Regions from separate parts of the Homo sapiens genome. Here regions 1, 2, 3 and 5 are each linked to region 4. The links are contacts of gene promoters, found by promoter capture Hi-C in blood cells and fetal thymus (Javierre and others, 2016). All regions are on one chromosome and are shown on one strand. Each heading gives the region's core, a stretch centred on a gene start or on the middle of the fragment in contact. The rest is flanking DNA. Distances are from core to core; before and after follow the strand shown. Region 1 overlaps UBN1 (ubinuclein 1). Region 2 overlaps GLYR1 (glyoxylate reductase 1 homolog). Region 3 overlaps MGRN1 (mahogunin ring finger 1). Region 4 holds the start of ZNF500 (zinc finger protein 500). Region 5 overlaps MGRN1 (mahogunin ring finger 1).

Region 1 (2,700 bases), core at 144-2,643, 110 kb before region 4:
AACATTGGCCTGTTGTGAGGATACAAACATGTGAACTCGAGTCAAAAAAACTGGGCCTTCCTGTATAATTACAAGACAAGTGGTGGGACAGAGCAGGAGCTGTGCCCGCCTTGACTTTAGATGCCATGACTTCATCACCCCTGGTGAGTATCTGGTTGGCCAGGGCTGGGTTTACCCCGGCATGCTTCGTTGCTAAGTACAAACAAGCCGCCAGGAGAAACTTTCTTCTGTTTTGAAAAGCGTTAAGACTCTCGTGAAGAGATACTCTGCCTACTGGCATTCCCACTGTCTCAGCGCACTCCTAGCTGCAATCAGACCAAGGCATGGCATGAGAATTGCCTTAAAGCAGCTATTTTTCCCTTCTTGATTTTTCCCAGCACCCATCTCCTCAGACTGGGTTCAAAGAAGAGTGAGCTTTTCATGGGAACAGGAATGGGGTCTAATCCTTCACTCCTGCATCCCTGGTGCTTAATACAGTGTGTCTGGGACATTGTGGGAGCTCAACAGATACTTAGGAGTAAATGATTTGCACATCTCATTCTCACGGTCTGCTTAGGGATGGCTAAGGGCACCACACTAAGAACTGGGAAAAATGTTGATAAACAGCAATTTTTACTACATTGAGAGGTTTCTGCAACATCTAAGGTAATTTTCACAGTGTCTATTCTCCAGCCACTATATTGCCCTCCATTTCTGCCTGGTAGCTCAGTAAAGTCGCCTTTTCTTTCTGCTGTGGCTCCAAGCTAAACTGCACTTGGCTAGAGTGTATTTCTTCCATACAAAGATCACAGTGTAACACGTTCACACCTTCAGGGACTACTGACTCCTCAGAGGGCTGCCAAGAAGATCCCACTTAATCCCACATGAACCCCAGGAACTGGGCCAGCTGGGTACTGTTTGTAGAACCAAGGCTAGAGGGGGGTTAAGTGGCTTGGGTCTCTGTCCTGTTATGACTTCAAGAATGTCATCCTGAGCAGCTGTCCCCAGACGAGCAAAGATCAATGAGCTTCCACAGTCACTTGACTGTTTCCAGAGCATAGTTGTAGGGAGATGGGCATAGCTGACATGTGACCCGAGCAAACTGACTCACCTTCACCTTGATTTTAGAAGGGGCCATAACTTTCTTCTTGGCCCTGTTCAAAGGAATGAGCACAGAAAAGTTTAGAGAATATCCAGAGGAGACCAAAAACAACACTTGTCCCGAGATGTGAAAATACCAAGACACTCACAGGATTGAAGTCAGGTGCCCATGGCCTCGTCTGCTCTCCTTAAACAGAGTTCTGAAAGACACAGAACACCAGGCATCTGTACATGCCCCAGAAAGCTGGGACTCTGCTTCCAGAACTTTGCTAGTGTCCCTGGTCCTCAGTAGCTATCCCTCATTAAATGTCAACTGGCCAGGCGCAGTGGCTCACGCCTGTAATCCCAGCACTTTTGGAGGCCAAGGCAGGTGGATCACCTGAGGTCAGGAGTTCGAGACCAGCCTGGCCAACATGGTGAAACCCCGTCTCTACTAAAAATACTAAAATTAGCCAGGCGTGGTGGCGCACGCCTGTAATCCCAGCTACTCGGGAGGCTGAGGCAGGAGATTCGCTCAAACCGGGGAGGCGGAGGTTGCAGTGAGCCGAGATCGTGCCATTGCACTCCAGTCTGGGCAACAGAGTGAGACTTTGTCCCCGCCCCCCCACCATGCCCACCCACCCCCCACACACACAAAAAAAAAGGTCAATGGATTGGGGAGCCAAATTCCTGGTGAGAGGATCTCAATGGGACACACTGGCTGCCCAAAGGCTGAGTCTGGCCTTTACCAAGAAAATGTATGGCTCTGCCTCAAACCTCTCATGGTGATGCTTCCCTAAAGGGCACAGCACTTTCCTTATTGCCTAGTCCCTCCATTCCAGGAATAAAATGTGGAGTGACCCAGCATGTCTTTGTCCAGAGAAACTCAACAAAAACGTTCTTCGTATGAGTCCAGCCTACGTAGAGAGGACAGCAATTTCAAAGGTTCCAAGATCTATCCGCACAACAGATGATTCGAGTCCAATCAAGAAAATCACTCCAGCTAACTTTCTCTGTCCCATGTATGACACAAATACTTCATTCGCAGGAAGTGACTTCGTACAAGGTAGCCTCTGAGATGGAAGCCTGGCACTTAGTTCCAATAAGGAGTCAGCCCTGCTACCTGCAAATGACACTTCTTCAGGAACATCAGGAAAGACCCAAGATGAACCCATCTCTCAAATGCTCATAGCAGCCTGTATGTTAAAACAGGAAGTGTGGCCGGGTGTGGTGGCTCACGCCTGTAATCCCAGCACTTAGGGAGGCCAAGGTGGGCAGATCACAAGGTCAGGAGATTGAGACCATCCTGGCTAACACGGTGAAACCCCATTTCTACTAAAAATACAAAAAATTAGCCGGGCATGGTGGCAGGCACCTGTAGTCCCAGCTACTCGGGAGGTTGAGGCAGGAGAACGGCGTGAACCTGGGAGGTGGAGCTTGCAGTGAGCTGAGATCATACCACTGCACTCCAGCCCAGGCAACAGAGCGAGACTCCATCTCAAAAAAAAAAAAAAAAAAAAAAAAAAAAGGAAAGTGCATATTGAGATGGGAGGCCAAACATCAACTGAAGTGGGACAAAAAATGACAAAAACAAAACCCTGGAGGCAACTTCCCTTCCTCCAGGGAAGATCCAGAAGACCC
Region 2 (2,700 bases), core at 59-2,558, 67 kb before region 4:
TCTCACTCTGTTGCCCAGGCTGGAGTGCAGTGGCACAATACTGGCTCACTGCAACCTCCGCCTCCTGGGTTCAAGTGTTTCTCCTGTCTCAGCCTTCCGAGTAGCTGGGATTACAGCTGCGTGCCACTACACCCAGCTAATTTTTATATTTTCAGTAGAGACGAGATTTCACCATGTTGGCCAGGCTGGTCTCAAACTCCTAACCTCAGGTGATCTGCCTGCCTCGGCCTCCCAAAGTGCTAGGATTACAGGTGTGAGCCACCGTGCCCAGCCAAGCTGGTTTTTTATGGCTGTTTTTTGATGTAACAGGATGCTTCTCCAGCAATAAGTTGATTCCTTAAATAGATTAACATTTCTTGGATTTACCATCCTATTCATACTGTCAGTTCATTTAGCCATTTTAATGTTTCGAAGATGGTTGTAAAGAGGAAAATTTTAGTATCTCAAATGCTTTAAAGTGAGTGGAATTTTGACTGTACAGTTCCTTCTAGCAGAAATCAGTAAACCTTGTAAGATGCTTCAACAAAAAATGGGGTTGATTCCTTGGCACTTCACAGACATCCTCACCTTTCTGTTCCCTCAGAATCGGGTTCCTGTGAGGCTGGGTAGTGGGAGGCAGGGATGGAGGTAGCAGGATGGCGTGGGTGGGATTAGCAAGTCTCGGAGTCTGTTGTCCCATCTCAAGGGGTTCCATAAAAATCACCTTTTTGGTCCTATATTGGGAACTTGTGTGGTTCTCAGCTTCTGACCAGAAGCTCCTAGGAAGAACTGGCTGGTCACGACTCCTTAAGCTTCATCCTTGATACTGGTTGTGTCATCTCAGACCCACGGGTTAGTATGGTAGCTTCACTGGCTTTTGGGGCTGGGTCTGACTTTGCATCTGATTGCTCTGGCCTGTCATTAGCATCCCTGTAAGGAGAGGGAACGGAGTCAGTTCAGGGATATTCTTGCCAGAAAATCTGGGGTCGAAATCTCCTTCCACTTTTCCTCCCAGCAGATTGGACTCATTGGCGCTCTCATGTTGAATTTCAAACTTTAAGATGAGTTGGTCACTGGAAAGGAGTTTGCTGGCTCACACCTGTAATCCCAGCACTTTGGGAGGCCAAGGCAGGTGGATCACTGGAGGCCAGAAGTTCAAGACCAGCCTGGCCAACACAGGGAAACCCCGTCTCTACTAGAAACATAAAAATTAGCTGGGTGTGGTGGTGCATACCTGTAGTCCCAGCAACTCGGGAGATAGAGGCAGAATTGCTTGAACCTGGGAGGTGGAGGCGGAGGTCGCAGTTAGCTAAGATCGTGCCACTGCACTTCATCCTAGGTGACAAAATGAGACTCTGTCTCAAAAAGGAAAAAAAAAAGGCCAGGTGTGGTGGCTCACGCCTGTAATCCCAGCACTTGGGAGGCTGAGGCAGGAGAATCACTTGAACCTAGGAGGCGAGGTTGCCGTGAGCCAACATCGCCCCATTGCACTCCAGCCTGGGCAACAAGAGTGAAACTCCGTCTCAAAAAAAAAAAAAAAAAAAAAAGGAATTTGCCTAACTCCTCTAGTTGGAGCTGTGCCAGGGAGACCAGCTTCTGTATCTCCATTCATCATCTCACTTAGCCATGGTGGCATGCCTGATAGTGGTTCGCTGCCTGACATCTGCAGGCCGATGATCCCAGGTCTGTGTTTTTGCACAGACCCCATTATCACAACTACCAGCAGCACACTCAAAGTCCAGGTAGCTGGTGGAGGGTTAGTAACATTATTTTTATGTGCAAAGGTTAACACTTGCTGTTAGTGAATATTCTCTAGCTTTCTATGAAGAAAACAACCTGAAGCTTGTGAGATAGCTGGGTTTCTGTATCCTTAACCTGACCTACTTTTTCTGAAGGTTATGCTGTGAAACCTGTATCACAGGCTAAAACATGTAAACTAACTGATACCTTGTAAAGCCTATAAAATTATTTTGTGCTTGGATTCTATAAGCTGCATGCCATTCAGGGAAGCCATAGAAAGCCAGCTGCAGCAGATTTGTTCAGGTTAGTGTGACAGATCAGAAACCCCAGAATTGACAGCTGACTACTTTCACTTTCATGTGTTACACATTGATGGTTGAAATTAAAAATTACATATCGGAGGTGTATGTTCTTCTACCTTTAATCTCAAGCATCTTGTTTCTATTTTTTTTTTTTTTTGAGACATCATAAAACAGCATGCCATCTTGTTTTTAAATGCCTCCTTTTGTAACTGCTGCCCTTATTCCAAACCATGTGTTCCGTGTTTTGTGTGGTTTAGTAGCCATGGTTACCATCATTTATGAACAAATATAGGCTCAGTGGCTGTGAATATCCATAGGAACCACAAATTTTAGAAGATGTTGCATTTCTTCAGCTCTGTAACATCCCTGACTCTCTGTGGATCAACAGATCATAAATCTGGTTCCCATTGTTGACAGGCAGCAGGCATTTTCCTGCATAGTAATGCTGCTATCATCTATCACATTTCCAGGTACCCTGATTCCCAGGGATCTGTGTGTGGCCATTTGTGCTGCCTGGTGAGAATGGGAAAGGGTCTCCAGATTTCTTTCTGCCCTGAGCAAGTGGCAGCGTATATGTGGTTGGGCATTGGAGGCTGATAGACGATTGTGGAAATAAATAATCTGCAACACAGTGCTTTCACTGGAGGAACTTGATTTGTGGTTGCTGCAGTGGTGGTGA
Region 3 (2,700 bases), core at 156-2,655, 120 kb after region 4:
TGCAGTGGCTCACACCTGTAATTCCAGCACTTTGGGAGGCCAAGGTGGGTGGATCACCTGAGGTCAGGAGTTGGAGACCAGCCTGACCATAATGGAGAAACCCTGTCTCTACTAAAAATACAAAATTACCCAGGCGTGGTGGTGTGTGCCTGTAATCCCAGCTACTTGGGAGGCTGAGGCAGGAAAATCGCTTGAACCTGGGAGGCAGAGGTTGCCGTGAGCTGAGATTGGGCCAGCTGTCCACTCCAGCCTGGACAACAAGAGTGAAACTCCATCAAAAAAAAAAAAAAAAAAAAACTGGTAATTGAGGGGTCCAAGCACGGTGGCTAACACCTGTAAACCCAGCACTTTGGGAGGCTGAGGGGGGTGGATCACTTGAGGTAAGGAGTTCTAGACCAGCCTGGCCAACATGGTAAAACCCCATCTCTACTAAAAATACAAAACAAAACAAAAAAAAATTAGCCGGGAGTGGTAGTACATGCCTGTAATCCCAACTACTCAGGAGGCCAAGACAGCAGAATTGCTTGCATCTGGGAGGCAGAGGTTGCAGGGAGCCGAGATTGCACCACCTCACTCCACTCCAGCCTGGGCAACAGAGCGAGACTCCATCTCAAAAAAAACAAACAAACAAAAAAAACTAGCATTGAGGCTGAAATCATTTTAGCAACAGCTTGTATCCAACTGTGAATGCATGAATTAACCAGGAGAAAAAGGAACCCATCTACTCAAGAGACATATTTCCAATGTTTTTTCGTATTTCTTCTTGTTATTGATAAAAACTGGAATATTTGTTTGATCAATTGGGTATTAGTAATGGCCATTCAAAACACGAAAAACTCACAGCTTATGATGTAAAATTATTTAAAATTCTAATTTCAATTGGTGCGCATATTTTGGTTGCAGACACACAATATGATCAATACAAGATTTTTGCCAGGCGCGGTGACTCACGCGTGTAATCCCAGCACTTTGGGAGGCCAAGGCAGGTGGATCACGAGGTCAGGAGATGGAGACCATCCTGGCTAACACGGTGAAACCCCGTCTCTACTAAAAAATACAAAAAATTAGCCAGGTGTGGTGGCACGCGCCTGTAGTCCCAGGTACTTGGGAGGGGCTGAGGCAGGAGAATTCCTTGAACCCAGGAAGCGGAGGTTGCAGTGAGGGAGACTCTGTCTCAGAAAAAAAAAAAAAAAAAAAAATCAAGCAAGGCCGGGTACAGTAGCTCACGCCTGTAATCCTACCACTTTGGGAGGCCAAGGTGGGAGGTTCACTTGAGCCCAGCAGTTCGAGACCTGCCTGGACAACATGGCAAAACCCCATCTCTGCCAAAAATACAAAAATTAGTCCAGGCTCAGTGGCTCGTGCCTATAATCCCAGTGCTCTGGGAGGCCGAGAGGAGTGGATCACAAGGTCAGGAGATCGAGATTGAGACCAGCCTGGCCAACATGGCGAAATCCCATCTCTACTAAAAATACAAAAATTAGCCAGGCATGGTGGTGTGTGCCTATAGTCCCAGCTACTTAGGAGGCTGAGGCACGAGAATCGCTTGAACTTGGGAGGCAGAGGCTGCAGTGAGCTGAGATTGTGCCACTTCACTCTAGCCTGGGTGACAGAGTGGGACTGTCTCAAAACAAAACAAAACAAAAAAAATTAGCTAGCACGGTGATGCGTACTTGCAGTCCAAGGTACTCGGGAGGCTGAGGTGGAAGGATCACTTGAGCCTGGGAGGTCAAGGCTGCAGTGAACCCTGATCAAGCCACTGCATTATAGCCTAGGCAACAGAGCCAGACCCTTTAACAAAAAAAAAAAAAAAATTCAAGCGTTAAAAATTATAACCCACCAGGCACGGTGCTCACCCCTGTAATCCCAGCACTTTGGGAGGCCAGGGCAGGCAAATCACTTGAGGTCTGCCGTCAGGAGTTGAAGACCAGCCTGGCCAACATGGGAAAGTCTGTTTCTACTAAAAATACAAAAATTAGGGCCGGGTGCGGTGGCTCACGCCTGTAATCCCAGCACTTTGGGAGGCCGAGGCGGGCGGATCACAAGGTCAGGAGTTTAAGACCAGTCTGGCAACAAGGTGAAACCCCCATCTCTACTAAAAACACACACACACACACACACACACACACACACACAAATTAGCTGGCCGTGGTGGTGCATGCCTGTAATCCCAGCTACTCAGAAGGCTGAGGCAGGAGAATCGCTTGAACTCAGGAGACGAAGGTTACCGTGAGCGGAGATCACACCATTGAACTCCAGCCTGGGTGACAGAAGACGACTCCGTTTCAAAAATAAATAAATAAATAAAAATACAAAAATTAGCTCATGCCTGTAATCCCCACTACTCGGGAGGCTGAGACAGGAGAATCTCTCGAACCCAAGAGGCAGAGGTTGCAGCGAGCTGAAATCGCGCCACTGCACTCCAGCCTGGGCGAAAGAGCAAGACGGTCTTTTTTAAAAAAAAAAAAAAAAAAGGAACCAAGTCATATGCTGACAGGGAAATGCATGACAGTGCAGGGTTACCGGATGGACCCTCAGCACTCAAGAACAGGGTCTACGTGATCAACACGGCGCAGACAATCAACAACTCACACCTGCAGGAGACGAGACCAACTGGGAAGAACTGGAAACACCTCACAGAGAATCCAGGCCAGCCGAGGGGGCTCACGCCTATAATCCCAGCACTTTAGGAGGCCAAGG
Region 4 (2,700 bases), core at 201-2,700:
AACCAAAGAGGAAAAGCAGCGAGAATCCAGCATAGGAGACGGGCCTTAGGATGCCCAAGTTAGGATTAGGGGCAAACTACGTTAACCTGGTAGTTAGGAGCTGAAGTTCTGGAATCAAAGATTTGGGTTCCAATCCCATTTCTGTACTTCCTGTTTGACCTTCTCTGGGGGGTTCAATACTTAAAACTCTCAGAGCTTCAGGGTTTTGTTTTGTTTTGTTGAACCGGTAGGTCTAGTTATAGTACCTCTATTACTAAATGAGGAAGAAACGAAGTACAAATGTGTTTTGCTTGCTTGATGCTCAAGAATTGATGCGACCGGGAGCGGTGGCTTACTCCTGTAATCTCAGCACTTTGGGAGGCTGACGTGGGTGGATTGCTTGAGGCCGTTGGAGACCAGCCTGGGCAACATGGGGAAACCCCATCTCTACTAAAAATACAAAAATTAGCCGGACCTGGTGGTTCGTGCCTGTAATCCCAACTATTCGGGAGGTTAGGTAGGAGAATTGCTTAAAACCGGGCGGCGGAGGTTGCTGTGAGCCAAGGTCGAGCCACTGCACTCTAGCCTGGGCGACAGAGTGAGACCCTGTCTCTAAATAAATAAATACATACATACAAGAATTGATACCTGGCTGGGCACACCTGTAATCCTGACACTTTGGGAAGCTGAGGCGGGAAGATTGCTTGGGCCCAGGAGTTTGAGACCAGCCTAGGCACCATGGTGGGACTTCATCTCTAACAACAACAACAAAGATTGATGCCCATTATTATGTTGTCAGAAAGAAGCAGGCAGGACAAGGGATATTTGGGGTTGGACGTTGTTGGGGGCCCTCTTGGGGGAGGGTGGGCGCAAGCACTTGGCATCTCTTCCAGTTTTATCTTGAACAACTTCTGCCTTTATTTATTTTATTTATTTATTATTTATTTATTTATTTTTTGAGATGGAGTTTCGCTCTTGTTGCCCAGGCTGGAGGACAATGGCAGGATGTCGGCTCACTGCAACCTGCGCCTTAGCCTCCTGAGTAGCTAGGATTACAGGCATGAACCACCACGCCCAGGTTTCTCCACGTTAGTCAGGCTGGTCTCGAACTCCCGACCTCAGGTGATCCGCCCGCGTCGGCCTCCCAAAGTGCTAGGATTACAGGTGTGAGCCACCGTGCCCGGACGACTTTGCTGGCTTTAAAGATGGAGGAGGCGGCCAGAGGAGAGCGGAGCGGGTGTGGAACAGTGACTGGGAAAGTAGCCCAGAGGCTGCAGAGTCGCCGCACGCTCGCGCGGTCACCGAGGTGCTGGACTACGTTACCCACAATGCGTGCCTTTGAGGACCACATTAACCACAGTGCACGTCGCGGACCCGCCCACTCGGCCGTGTTGCCACGCCCCCAACGGCCGGCTTAGCCAATGGTGCCACGGCTACGTTACCCACAATGCCGCCTGCGGGCCCACCCGCACGGCCTGGTTTGCACCCCTGGTTTAGGGTCTTCGGCCCCGGCTCTGGCGTCCCTGGCTGCCAAGCCTGAGGCCCGCAGTCCTACTCCCGCCGAGACCCGCCGCTCCGGTCCTGCCCCGAACTGCCCACGGCCGGCAGCGCTTCCAGTGAGTGCGGGGGGCGCGGGGACGCGGGTCCCGGCCGAAGCTTCGATTTCGCGGCCCGCGCCAGCACCCGGGTCTGTGCCGCGGCCTCGGGTACCGCTCACCCTCCACCTGAGGGATGAGACGGGAAAGCAGCCCGGCCTGGGGGTCCCAGCTCTCCCAGGACCCTGGAATTGGGGGGCTGTCGTGACCACCCACGCGGGGGTGCCTGACGGGGCCGCGTAGGGGCTTCAGGGTTCGCCAGACCTGGACACCGGGGATCAAGTTGAGGCAGAGTCTGCAGAAAGGCCCTACTTTTCATCAGATTTCCAAAGGAACCCCTTCCATATAGGACCCACTCTAATCATGGAAAATAACGATTCTCGAGCTCTGACCGCAAACATCCCTTTTAGATTGTTTTTGTTTGAGTCTCTCTCTGTCGCCCAGGCTGGAGTGCAGTGGCGCTATCTCAGTTCACTGCAACCTCCATCTCCCGGGTTCAAGCGATTCTCCTGTCTCAGCCTCCCGAGTTGCTGGGATTACAGATGTGCTACCACCATGTCGGGCTAATTTTTGTATTTTTTGTAGAGACAGGGTTCCACCACGTTGACCAGGTGGTCAACTCCTGAACTCACGTGATCTGCCCTCCTCTGCCTCCCAAAGTGCGGGGATTACAGGCGTCAGCTACTGCCCCCAGCCATCCCTTTTAGTTCTGTCAGCAACCTGTGTGTGTAGGTCCTGTTATCATCTCTGTTTGCCCAGTGAGGAAGCAAAGCCCAGAGCCCTTCAGTAAATTACCCGGGAATTAACAGGGGGTTAATAACAAAGATGACATTCATCCACTTCCTTTTCCTTTTCCATGGTGGGGTGAGCTGGCCTTGGAACCAGGGCAGGGGCTTCCCAGGCCAAAGGGCTTATCCAGCCCCAGGGCTGCCCTTCAGATGGTTTTATCGTCTCTCCACAGGGCCCTGAAAAAAACTCTCTTCCTGTGTCTGGCCAGAGGTATAGAGAGAGACAGGTTCAACTCTAAGGCCTGAAAAGGAACAAGGCCCACCGGAAGCAATGGCCACTGTCCCTGGCCTCCAGCCCCTGCCAACCTTGGAGCAGGACCTGGAACAGGAAGAGATCC
Region 5 (2,700 bases), core at 37-2,536, 86 kb after region 4:
CGCCTGCCAGGACCCACGCAAGGACACTCCCTGGAGAAGGGCATCACCAGCCACCGGGACCAACCCAAACGGCCAACAGGCAACAGCGGCCACCACAGACCCGCCCGACAGAGGGGCTCCCGACACACTGGCACGGGCCTAGCCTTCCTTTTCTTTCTAGAAGGAGAAGAGAAACCGCTGGTGGTTCCTGGGGAGGAGAAGCAGCAGGAGACAGAGGCCCCCGTTTCTCTGAGCTTTGGCGCTGCCTCCTCGTGGGCATGGAGGGTGCCCAGGGCGGGCCTGCAGAACCCGCGCCTTCCTGACACTCTTCTACGAGAACCGACAGGCCTGAGGCACAGAGTCCCCCTGGCAGCCGCCGCTCTATACACCGCAAGGCTCCAGGGGAACCACGAATGACCCGTGGCCAACCCCAGGAGCCAGGCCCTCCGAAGGCTGTCGTATGAGTGATGGATGATGCACTCATCGCCTGGAGAGGGACCGTGCCCCGTGGCTCGTCACGGGCGAACGGCAAGAGCAGTGAGTGTGCCTGGGTCACTGTCAGGTCCTGAGTTTCGGCTGCCCTGGCTGGTCACCGGCAGAGTGGGCCTACGTGGCCAGCCCCCCAATGAAGTCTGGGAACCCAGAGGCTCAAAGGGGCTCCCCTCAGCAGAGACACAGCACCGACCCCTGCAGTTTCCTGCTCGAGAGCACGTATGCGCCTGCACGCCGGTGTGGCCCTGGTCGGGGGATCAAAGCCTCCAGCTGCCCGGACGCTCTTCCTGCCTCGTCTGCTGCGTTCTTTGCCGTAATAAACTTTACCCATGAGTCTAACCTGATACGGGGTCTCCGAGTCCTTCTGGGGAATCGCCACACAGAACACATCACAAACTGATTTGAAACCACAAAGACACCCGCTCCGCACGCGCGCCACCACACACCCTGCCATGCACCTGGCCTGGCTGCTGCTCACCTGTCGGGGGCCTTGCTCTGCGGCCTGCCCTTCTGGCGGCTGCTGTCCAGGATGTGGTCGATAGCCGCGAGGGGACAGCTGGCCTGGGACAGGCCGTCCGAGATGCCTGAATAGGTGATTTCTTCATAAAGAGGGGCCGAGGGGATGGCCGGGGAGACAGCCCGGAGGCCGTTGAGCGCCTCGAGCAGCGAGATGGGCTCGTAGCCAGGTGGGACGCTGTCAGAGTTCTGTAGGGACAGGGTGCGTGAGGGGGCTCATGCCCAGGGACCACCTGCTCCCCAGACGCTCCTCCTGATGACCTCCTGTCCACTCTGTTCTTTGGGGGATTGAGACTCCCCCACCCTCAGAGGGTGGCCAAGAGCTCCCTGGCAGCACCGATGCCCTCCCTGCCTCAGCCATCAGCTCCAGCACGGGGCTGGATGCCCAAATGCCCACGCTGGTGCCTGGGATGACGGGCACGAGGGCATCTGCCAAGAACCGCCCCAGCCCTGGCCTCAACCAGCCCCTCCCTGGCTTTCAGTCCCGCCTGGCCCCAGGTGGAGAGTGAAGGGTTAGTGACAGACAGGAGCTGGGAGCGGGGGCAGAGCAAAGCCATGCCAGAGGCGAGAGACACGGTCAGGGGCGTCCTGGACCAGGGAGAGCTGAGCTGTTGGGAGCTGTGCCCTGCCCGGGCCTCTGGGGGCTGACCTGCTCCAGGTGGTTCTAACGGGCACCCTGGCTAAGAGCCACTGTTCTTCCCTCACTGGGAGCAGACAGAATCAACAAGGCTGAGGAAGAAGGAAAATGCCCAGGTTCTGGGGAACGGAAGTCAGACTGCGGGGGCCCCTGCTCTGTCCCCACAAAACCAGGTTGAGGGGCACAACGCTCGTCAGTGCTCCTTTCGGGAGACCCCGGCCTGCCTGACCGAGCTCCTGGAAGGAAGGGGAAAGTGAGATGGGTGCGGGATGCCTGGAGACCACGGGGAGGTGGGGGAGAAATGGGGGAGCGGGCACGGCCCGGGCAATGAGCCCGGGATGCTTTTCTGGACCTCTGTGTACCCCACATTTGCTCCCATACCTGCCTCCAAGTTAAGGGTAAATAACCACACAGAATCCCCTCACCCCTCTAGAAAGGAAAACACGGTCCGGGTGGCTCCGGAGTGGCCTCCACCTTCTACACCAACGCACACAGGGTTTCGGCTGGGTCTGCCTGGGCCACGGAGGCTCCAGGTGGTTGTGTGCTGGTCCCCCTGCCTGCTCCCTGGGGCACAAGGGAAGCCCAAGGAAACCAAAAAGCTCAGCCCAAGGAGCTCGAACCCGCAGGGTAAAGGAGCGGGACACGGGGCCAAGAAGCATGCGCGGGGCGCGATTGCAAAACGCAGCAGCGACGTTAGTTCCGCCTGCAACGTCCATTCCACTGCCAGCAAGAAAAAAAAGGGAAACGGCACGGGGGCCACGCGGGGCGGAGGCAAAGCTGAGGGGAGGGCGGCGGGGCCAGCGCACCTGGCGTTTCGCCCACGGACCGAGAGCTTTTCCGGTTCCACAAACTCCCTGGGCAGGGAGGCCGGGACTGGGCAAGTGGAGCTGACGGGTTATATGAATCAGACACTAGCCTGGGGCGGAAACGATCTCCCCTACTTGTCGTGGGTTTAAAAATGAGGGCGGGGGCAAAAAAACGTAGCCGGAGGACCAGACACTTACTGTTTCCCTTTTAGGTTTCTTGCTGGCCAGGGAGGCGGGGTGCGGCTTTGATTTTTTAAAGGGACACTGTCA

The links. The method cuts DNA at HindIII sites, captures the fragments that hold promoters and counts their contacts. A CHiCAGO score of 5 or more calls a contact.
Region 1: a contact is called between a fragment that was not itself captured here and the fragment with the promoter of ZNF500 in region 4, in 1 of 17 cell types (erythroblasts). The highest score is 5.6, in erythroblasts.
Region 2: a fragment that was not itself captured here is called in contact with the fragment with the promoter of ZNF500 in region 4 in 7 of 17 cell types (erythroblasts, megakaryocytes, monocytes and 4 more); the score reaches 12.8 in erythroblasts.
Region 3: a contact is called between a fragment that was not itself captured here and the fragment with the promoter of ZNF500 in region 4, in 2 of 17 cell types (erythroblasts and neutrophils). The highest score is 5.2, in erythroblasts.
Region 5: a contact is called between a fragment that was not itself captured here and the fragment with the promoter of ZNF500 in region 4, in 1 of 17 cell types (neutrophils). The highest score is 5.3, in neutrophils.

What each region holds. Positions count from the first base shown.
Region 1 is chr16:4,871,464-4,874,163 of GRCh38, reverse strand. It overlaps UBN1 (ubinuclein 1), which reads right to left. Exons shown (of 18, transcript NM_001079514.3): 13 at 1,230-1,280; 14 at 1,091-1,133. Among named protein-coding and RNA genes, the nearest start is that of UBN1, 25 kb to the right of the region's middle. The HindIII fragment of the contact is 5,729 bases long and covers 1-2,700 here.
Region 2 is chr16:4,833,122-4,835,821 of GRCh38, reverse strand. All of the region lies in intron 3 of GLYR1 (glyoxylate reductase 1 homolog), which reads left to right. Among named protein-coding and RNA genes, the nearest start is that of GLYR1, 13 kb to the left of the region's middle. The HindIII fragment of the contact is 1,030 bases long and covers 794-1,823 here.
Region 3 is chr16:4,641,903-4,644,602 of GRCh38, reverse strand. The region is part of intron 1 of MGRN1 (mahogunin ring finger 1); the gene reads right to left. Among named protein-coding and RNA genes, the nearest start is that of MGRN1, 18 kb to the right of the region's middle. The HindIII fragment of the contact is 4,575 bases long and covers 1-2,700 here.
Region 4 is chr16:4,765,912-4,768,611 of GRCh38, reverse strand. It overlaps ZNF500 (zinc finger protein 500), which reads left to right and starts at 1,450. Exons shown (of 6, transcript NM_021646.4): 1 at 1,450-1,595; 2 at 2,536-2,700. The coding sequence starts at 2,634. RefSeq lists an enhancer at 132-211 and a silencer at 1,404-1,703. The HindIII fragment of the contact is 2,671 bases long and covers 1-1,637 here.
Region 5 is chr16:4,680,026-4,682,725 of GRCh38, reverse strand. It overlaps MGRN1 (mahogunin ring finger 1), which reads right to left. Exons shown (of 17, transcript NM_015246.4): 12 at 2,629-2,694; 13 at 950-1,176. Among named protein-coding and RNA genes, the nearest start is that of MIR6769A, 10 kb to the right of the region's middle. The HindIII fragment of the contact is 3,050 bases long and covers 1-2,700 here.